Linked DNA regions of Homo sapiens: region 2 is linked to region 1. Evidence: promoter capture Hi-C in 16 types of primary human blood cells and fetal thymus (Javierre and others, 2016). All regions are on one chromosome and are shown on one strand. Each heading gives the region's core, a stretch centred on a gene start or on the middle of the fragment in contact. The rest is flanking DNA. Distances are from core to core; before and after follow the strand shown. Region 1 holds the start of VPS72 (vacuolar protein sorting 72 homolog). Region 2 overlaps GABPB2 (GA binding protein transcription factor subunit beta 2).

The links. The method cuts DNA at HindIII sites, captures the fragments that hold promoters and counts their contacts. A CHiCAGO score of 5 or more calls a contact.
Region 2: a contact is called between a fragment that was not itself captured here and the fragment with the promoter of VPS72 in region 1, in 1 of 17 cell types (megakaryocytes). The highest score is 5.2, in megakaryocytes.

What each region holds. Positions count from the first base shown.
Region 1 is chr1:151,188,093-151,192,086 of GRCh38, reverse strand. It overlaps VPS72 (vacuolar protein sorting 72 homolog), which reads left to right and starts at 1,890. Exons shown (of 6, transcript NM_005997.3): 1 at 1,890-2,082. The coding sequence starts at 1,966. RefSeq lists enhancers at 1,746-1,805, 1,846-1,915. The HindIII fragment of the contact is 16,139 bases long and covers 1-3,994 here.
Region 2 is chr1:151,092,189-151,096,182 of GRCh38, reverse strand. It overlaps GABPB2 (GA binding protein transcription factor subunit beta 2), which reads right to left. Exons shown (of 9, transcript NM_144618.3): 4 at 2,797-2,991. Among named protein-coding and RNA genes, the nearest start is that of GABPB2, 23 kb to the right of the region's middle. The HindIII fragment of the contact is 2,507 bases long and covers 865-3,371 here.

The DNA.
Region 1 (3,994 bases), core at 641-3,140:
GTCAAGGAGGCAGTGAGCCATGATCCTGCTGCTGCACTCCAGCCTGGGCAATAGAGACCCTGTCTCAAAAAAAATTGTAATTTTGTGTCTTTTTTTTTTTTCTTTTGAGATGGAGTCTTGCTCTGTTGCCAGGCTGGAGTGCAGTGGCACAATCTCAGCTCACTGCAACCTCTGCCTCCCGGGTTCAAGCGATTCTCCTGCCTCAGCCTCCCTAGTAGCTGGGACTACAGGTGCGCGCCACCACACCCAGCTAATTTTTGTATTTGTAGTAGATACGGGGTTTCACCATGTTGGCCAGGATGGTCACAATCTCTTGACCTCGGGATCTGCCCGCTTCAGCCTCCCAAAGTGCTGGGATTACAGGTGTGAGCCACTGTGCCAGGCCCAATTTTGTCTTTTTTTTTTTTCTGAGACGGAGTCTTGCTCTGTTTCCCAGGCTGGAGAGCAAATGGCGCGATCTCGGCTCACTGCAACCTCCGCCTCCCGAGTTCAAGCAATTCTCTGCCTCAGCCTCTCGAGTATCTGGGATAACAGGCGCCCACCACCACGACCAGCTAATTTTTGTATTTTTAGTAGAGATGGGGTTTCGCCATCTTGGCCAGGCTGGTCGTGAACTCCTGACCTCATGATCCACCCCCTTCGGCCTCCCAAAGTGCTGGGATTACAGGTGTGAGCCACAATTTTGTGTCTTTTAACAAATCTTTCCCTGTCCCTTCCTTCCCCCTGCTCTTCCCAGCCTCCAGTATCCTCTGTTCTTTCACTTCTATGAAATCAACTTTTTAAAAGCGTCACATATGAGTGAGAACATGCAGTGTTTTAACTTTCTGTTCGTGGCTTAAGTCAGTTAACATGTCCTCCAGTTCCATCCATGTTGCTGCAAATGACAGGATTTTCTTCTTTTTAATGGCTGAAAAGTATTCCATTGTGTATATACACCCTATTTCCTTTATTCATCTGTTGTTGGACACAGAGATTGATTTCCTATTTTGGCTACTCTAAGTAGTGCTGCAATAAATATGGGGGTGCATAAATATGGAGTGCAGACGTCTCTTGGATATACTGATTTCCTTTTTTTTTTTCCTCCTAAATTGGCTTCCTCAGGTTGAATTATGTCCTTTCCTTTGGATAAATGTCTATGGCTGTGTTTTTAACCACAATACTATGCTTCCTTCCTCAAGGATTTTTGACTTTATCTTGTAGATGATGTGGAGCCATTAAAAATGTTTGAGGACAGGAGTGGCAAAACGTGGGTTTTTAGAAAGTTTCCTACTAGCAGCAGTGTAGAAAATGGACTGGAGCGGAGAGAATGACCTCTTCTAAAAGAAAATGTGAGCTGGGGGCGCAGGCTTATGCCTGTAATCCCAGCACTTTGGGAGGCCGAAGCGGGCGGATCACCTGAGGTCAGGAGTTCGAGACCAGCCTGGCCAACACGGTGAAAGCTGTCTCTACTAAAAATACAAAAATTAGTTGGGCATGGTGGCGGGCGCCTGTAATCCCAGCTACTCGGGGGACTGAGGCAGGAGAATCGCTTCAGCCCGGGGGACGGAGGTTGCAGTGAGCCGAGATCGTGCCACTGCACTCCAGTCTGGCGACAGAGCGAGGCGAGACTCCGTCCCTACGGAAAAAAAAAACCATATATATATATAAAATAAAAATAAATAAAATAAAATGTGTTGACTTAGGGTTATGGGGGTCTTCGTACCACCAAGTGGACTCATTGAGCAAGGGAGATCGCTGGGTACTAGAGCAAGCGGCCTAGAGCATCCGCGCAGGAGTAGGAGAGGCTGAAGAGTAAAGAGGGTTTAGAGGGTGGGACTGGGAGTCTCTCGACACTCTGTTACTTCTGCCTGTAAACGCCCGACTTCCGCCGCTGGTGGCCACCCGCAGGTAGTGATGTCGAGCGTCGAGCTCCCAAAACCGAGCTGGTGAGGGGCTGCAGGTGGCGGCGCAGTCTCGGTAGGCGGTATGAGTTTGGCTGGGGGCCGGGCACCCCGGAAGACCGCTGGGAACCGGCTTTCTGGGCTTTTGGAGGCAGAGGAGGAAGATGAGTTCTACCAGACGACTTATGGGGGTTTCACAGAGGCAAGATCCGGGCCTGGGAAAAGGGAGGGGAGGAGGCAAAGAGGAGCCCTGAAGGGAGAAACCCCGGACAAAGAAGAAGAGGGCGGGGAATAGAGAGGAGCTCTGGGAGCTGATACTCGAGTTGGGTGGGTGAATCGGAGCCGGGGGGCGAGGCGGGGGAACGGATAGTGTGGAGTCCTAGAAGGGAGAGCTCTGGATGGGGTCAAAGGGGCCTGAGACGGAGAAGCTCTCCGGAGGCACTCCAGAGAACAGAGAACGGCAGAAACCTACCGTATACTTGCGTGGTTGCATCTTTCACTGTACTTCTGACGTCCAGCATACACGAGGCACACACATAGTAGTAGACAGTTGCTCGATGTATACTCGTTGGCCCACTGCTGGATTATTCACCTGAGACATGGAAAGGAACCGCTCCAAAAGTAGAGGAGCTTAGCCCACTTCTTTTTCAGCTTTCAGGTCTCAGTGTAAATGTTTTCTCAGGAAGATAACCCTTCCTTGACTATCCTAACAAGTGTCCCCATTTATTTCTTCCACAGAACATATTTCAATTTGCAATTAGATTTGGTTTGCTTACTTGCTTATGCTTTTCTATTGCATTGTAAACTGTATAAAGTTAGAGATGGTCTGTTTTGTTCAACATTATGTGTGAGGTGTCCGGACTGGGCTGCCACTTGCTAAATTTTTATTAGTTGAATCTACCCGTTTATTAAATGTGTTGAGTACCCAGAGCATGCCATCGGTAATAGGTTGTTTTAGGCTCTAGGGAAACAGAATATTAAAAACAGTGCTCTGTCCTTACATACTCCATGCCCCAGTGGGGTAACTGCCTGGGTTAACAGTTAAAATACTGTGTGATAGGCCGAGCACAGTGGCTTTGGCCGGGCACAGTGGCTCACGCCTGTAATCCCAGCACTTTGGAAGGCCGAGGCGGGTGGATCACAAGGTCAGGAAATCGAGACCATCCTGGCCAACATGGTAAAACCCCCTGTCTCTATTAAAATACAAAAATTAGCCAAGCGTGGTGGTGTGCGCCTATAGTCCCAGCTACTCAGGAGGCTGAGGCAGAGAATCGCTTGAACCTGGGAGGAGGAGGTTGCAGTGAGCCGAGATCGTACCACTGCACTCCAGCCTGGGCGACAGAGCAGGACTCCGTCTCAAAAACAAACAAAAAATGTGTGATAAGGACTAAAACAAGGTGTAAGAGTGTTAAGGTAATACATCTGAACCAAAGTTGTTGATCAGGATAGGCATCCCTGGAGGGATGATGTTTAAGCTGAGGACAGTTTGAAAAGTAGACCTTAGCTTGATGAAAAGCAGGAGAAGGAGAAAGGTTAGTCCACAGAGCAGGATGGGCTGAGTATGTAAAGACATTGAGATCCTGGTCTAGGACCTGCAAGTCTACTTTCATTCTCCAGAGCATGAAGGAGACTAAAGATTGATAAGCCTGCAGGGAGTAGGCATGGGCCAGATCCTTTAGGGCCTTGTGAGCTATGTTAAGGAATTTTGCTCTTCATCCAGAGGACTGAGAAGAGTCATCAGAATTCCACGATGAAATTTGTACTTTAGGAAGGTTACTTACTCTGTAATGAGAATGGCTTGAAGGGGGCATGGCAGTAGAGAAACAGAAAGATTCAAGAGAAATTAAGGAATAGAACCCACAGGACTTAGGGGCTGGGTGTGGTGGCTCACGCCTGTAATTCCAGCACTTTGGGAGGCTGAGGCGGGTGGATCACGAGGTCAGGAGTTCGAGACCAGCCTGACCAACATGGTGAAACCCTGTCACTACTAAAAATGCAAAAAATTAGCTGGTTGTGGTGGCGTGTGCCTGTAATTCCAGCTACTTAGGAGGCTGAGGCAGGAGAATCACTTGAACCCAGGAGGCAGAGGTTGCAGTGGATTGCGCCACTGCCCT
Region 2 (3,994 bases), core at 869-3,368, 96 kb after region 1:
CAAAGTGTTAGGATTACAGGCATGAGCCACCACGCCCAGCCAGAAATGACTGTTTTTCATATATAATTATCCCCTTGACTAAGAGCTTCAAATGAAACAGGTTATCCATTCTTTGGATATTGTGAAATTCCTTTTTTTTTTTTTTTTTGAGAGTCTCACTCTTGTCTCCCAGGCTGGAGTACAGTGGCACGATCTCAGCTCAGCTCACTACAACCTCCACCTCCCAAGTTCAACCGATTCTCCTGCCTCCATCACCCAAGTAGCTGGGATTACAGGCACCCACGACCAAGTCAGCTAATTTCTGTATTTTTAGTAAAGATGAGGTTTCACCATGTTGGCCAGGCTGGTCTTGAAGTCCTGACCTCAGGGGATTCACCCACCTCGGCCTCCCAAAGTGCTAGGATTACAGGCGTGAGCTACCATGCCTGGCCTAAATTCCTTCTTGAATTTGCCCTTTTCCTTTATCCTCCACTAGGACATGAAGTGTTCACAGCACGATAAAATTAAAGATAGGAAATAAAATATTACAATATTACATGATAAACAGACATCTAGTAAGTGCTATGGGAGCACAGAGGAGGGAAGAGTAGTACTGCTACGTGGCGAAATAGTAGCACTTCCTTGGTTCAAGTTCTCATTGGCCCTTGCCTGGCCTAATGAAAGTCACCGTATAGTTATTTAGCATTAAGTGTCTCTCTCATCTGTGTGCCACATTCCAAACAATCATCTTTTTAAACCAAATTTAGTCATATCAGTCCTCTATTTAAAAACTTCTATCCAAATGCATCGCCCACATAATAGTTCAAACTCCTTCACACGCTGTAAAGCATCCCTACATTCAGAATCCAGCCTAACTTTCAAGCTTAGCATCTGCCACTCCCAAACTCTACTTCCTTTGCCCATTCTCTCATCACTCAACTACTTTTTCTTGAACATTCCACGTTCTTTCACACCTCTGTGTCTTTGATTTGCTCTTTTTCTAGGCTAGAATATAGTTTTCTCACTTCTCTGCCTACTTCAATATTCAGTTCAGATTCCACTATTCCCTCCTTTGTGCTCCCATGGCACTTACTAGATATCTATTTATTATGCAATATTATAATATTTTCTTGCCTGTCTTTACTTTTATCATGCTTTCAACACTTCATGTCCTATTAATTTTTTTTTTTTTTTGAGATGGAATCCTGCTGTGTCACCCAGGCTCAAGTGCAGTGGCGCGATCTTGGCTCACTGCAACCTCTGCCTCCCAGGTTCAAGTGATTCTCCTGCTTCAGCCTCCCGAGTAGCTGGGATTACAGGCACACGTCACCATGCCCAGCAAATTTTTTTTGCATTTTTAGTAGAGACGGGATTTCACCATATTGGCCAGGCTGGTCTCGAACTCCTGACCTCAGGTGATCCACCTGCCTCGGCCTCCCAAAGTGTTGGGATTACAGGCATGAGCCACCACGCCTGGCCCATGTCCTGTTAATTTTTATATCCCCTGTCCTATTGTTCCCTGATGTACAGTGCTGGCTTAAGAAATTAATGGGCAGGCCAGGCGCAGTGGCTCACGCCTGTAATCCCAGCACTTTGGGAGGCCGAGGCAGGCGGATCACCTGAGGTCAGGGGTTCAAGACCAGCCTGGCCAAAATGGTGAAACCCTGTCTCTACAAAAATACAAAAATTAGCTGGGCATGATGGCAGGTGCCTGTAATCTCAGCTACTCAGGAGGCTGAGGAGGAAGAATCACTTGAATCCAAGCAGTGAGCCGAGATCGTGCCATTGCACTGGGCAACAGAGTGAGACTCTATCTCGGGGTCGGGGGTGGGAAACAGAAATTAATGGGACACAGCCGGCACAGTGGCTGACACTTGTAATCCCAGCACTTTGAGAGGCCAAGGCAGGTGGATCACCTGAAGTTAGGAGTTCGAGACCAGCCTGGGCAACATGGCGAAACCCTGTCTCTACTAAAAATACAAAAATAAGCTGGTCATGGTAGTGTGTGGCTATTGTCCCAGCTGCTCGGGAGGCTAAGGTGGAAGAATCCCTCAAACCCAGGAAATGGAGGCTGCAGTGAGCTGAGATCATGCCACTGCATTCCAGCCTGGGCAACAGAGTGAGACTCTGCCTCAAAAAAAAAAAAAAAAAAAAAAAAAAGGACGAAATCATCACAGTTAATTTTAAATTCTGAAGTGGCTTCCTTATCACTCAATATGCTTTAGAGCTTCATAGATAGTCCCCAATTTACAAGGGTTCAACTTACAATTTTTCAACTTTGCCATGGTGTGAAAGTGATCTGACTTATGATGGGGTTACACCTGCATAAACTCATCATAAATGGATCCAAAGTAACCCTATCATAAGTCAAGGAGCATCTGTATACTGTCTCACATCAGTTGATGAATATTCAGAAAACATCAAGTAACTTTTAATATTGTCCCAAGTCAAGTTTAATTAGAAAGGGAAATTTTCATGGAGAAAAAGACATTCTAAAGCCAAATAAATGTTTTTGGTACTAGCCACAACATGGTTCTTTAATCACCATGATTAATTCAGGGCTTTATAGAATATATATATTAAAAAATATATATAAAAAATATAAAAAATATATATGCGTATACATATATACACACAAATATATATTCTATACATAGCTGTATTTTAAAGATACTAATGACACTGAGTCACAAGATTGAGACATATTAGAAGTGCTACTTTAATAAAATAGGGAAAATTCAGTTTTGATTCAGCTCCTACAAAAAAATCCTTAACTTCAATTAACATACATTCTGGAGAGTATAAAAAGAACCACACCTGGAGGATGACCAAAATCTCAGCATTGTTTTTCTCCAGAGCTATGTCAAAGGCTGATTTATCAAATTTGCTGAAAGCATGGACATCAGCTCCATATTTGATAAGTAACTCTACGACATCTCGATGGTGGCGCTCTGTGGCCCAATGCAAAGCTGTCATCTTCAGCATGTCCTTGGCATTCACATCTGCACCATTCTGTCACAGAAAAGCATTTTTTTCAACAAACAGCGGTTATAGTAGCACAGGTGCAACATCCCATCATCAAATACAGAGGATTTCCATAGAGATTACGTACTCAAATCTAGATCACATTTAAGGAATATCAAAGGGAAAAACATTTCTCAAATTCTCCTAAATGCTGACAGACATAATGCTTTCAACGAGTGGGTCCTCTAAGGACATCAATGGGAAATTAAACAGATGGAAGACAAAGAGAGAAAGAACAGATTTTTGTTGCATTTATTAACAGAAAGCCAAGTGCCTGAATAAATAGGCATAAGTGCAGAGAATACCTTCAGGAACGGAAAGAAGAAAAATCAGTAAGTCTGTTTAGCCTTTAAAAAATTAGAAAAGCTTGAGCTCAGGAGTTCAAGATGAACCTGGGGAACATGGTGAAAAAACATGCCTCTACAAAAAATTCAAAACATTAGCCAGGCGTGGTAGTACATGCCCGTTGTCCCAGCTAAAGGGGAGGCTGAGGTAGGAGAATCTCTTGAGCCTGGGAGGTGGAGGCTGCACCACCACACTCTAGCCTGGGTGACAGAGTGAGACCACCGTCTCCAAAAAAAAAAAACAAAAACCATTAATAATAATAATAATAAATTGGAAAACTAGGCTGGGAGCAATGGCTCATGCCTGTAATCCCAGAACTTTGGAAGGCTGAGGATGGAAGGATCACTTGAGGCCAGGAGTCTGAGACCAGCCTGGTCAACGTAGTGAGATCTCATCTGTATTTTTTTTTTAAATATGATTTTAAAAAAATGGCTGGGTGCGGTGGCTCACGCCTGTAATCCCAGCACTTTGGGAGGCTGAGGCGGGTGGATCACGAGGTCAAGGGATGTAGACCATCCTGGCCAACATGGTTAAACCCCATCTCTACTAAAAATATAAAAATTAGCTGGGTGTGGTGGAGCACGCCTGTAGTCCCAGCTACTCCGGAGGCTGAGGCAGGAGAATCGCTTGAACCTGGGAGGCAGAG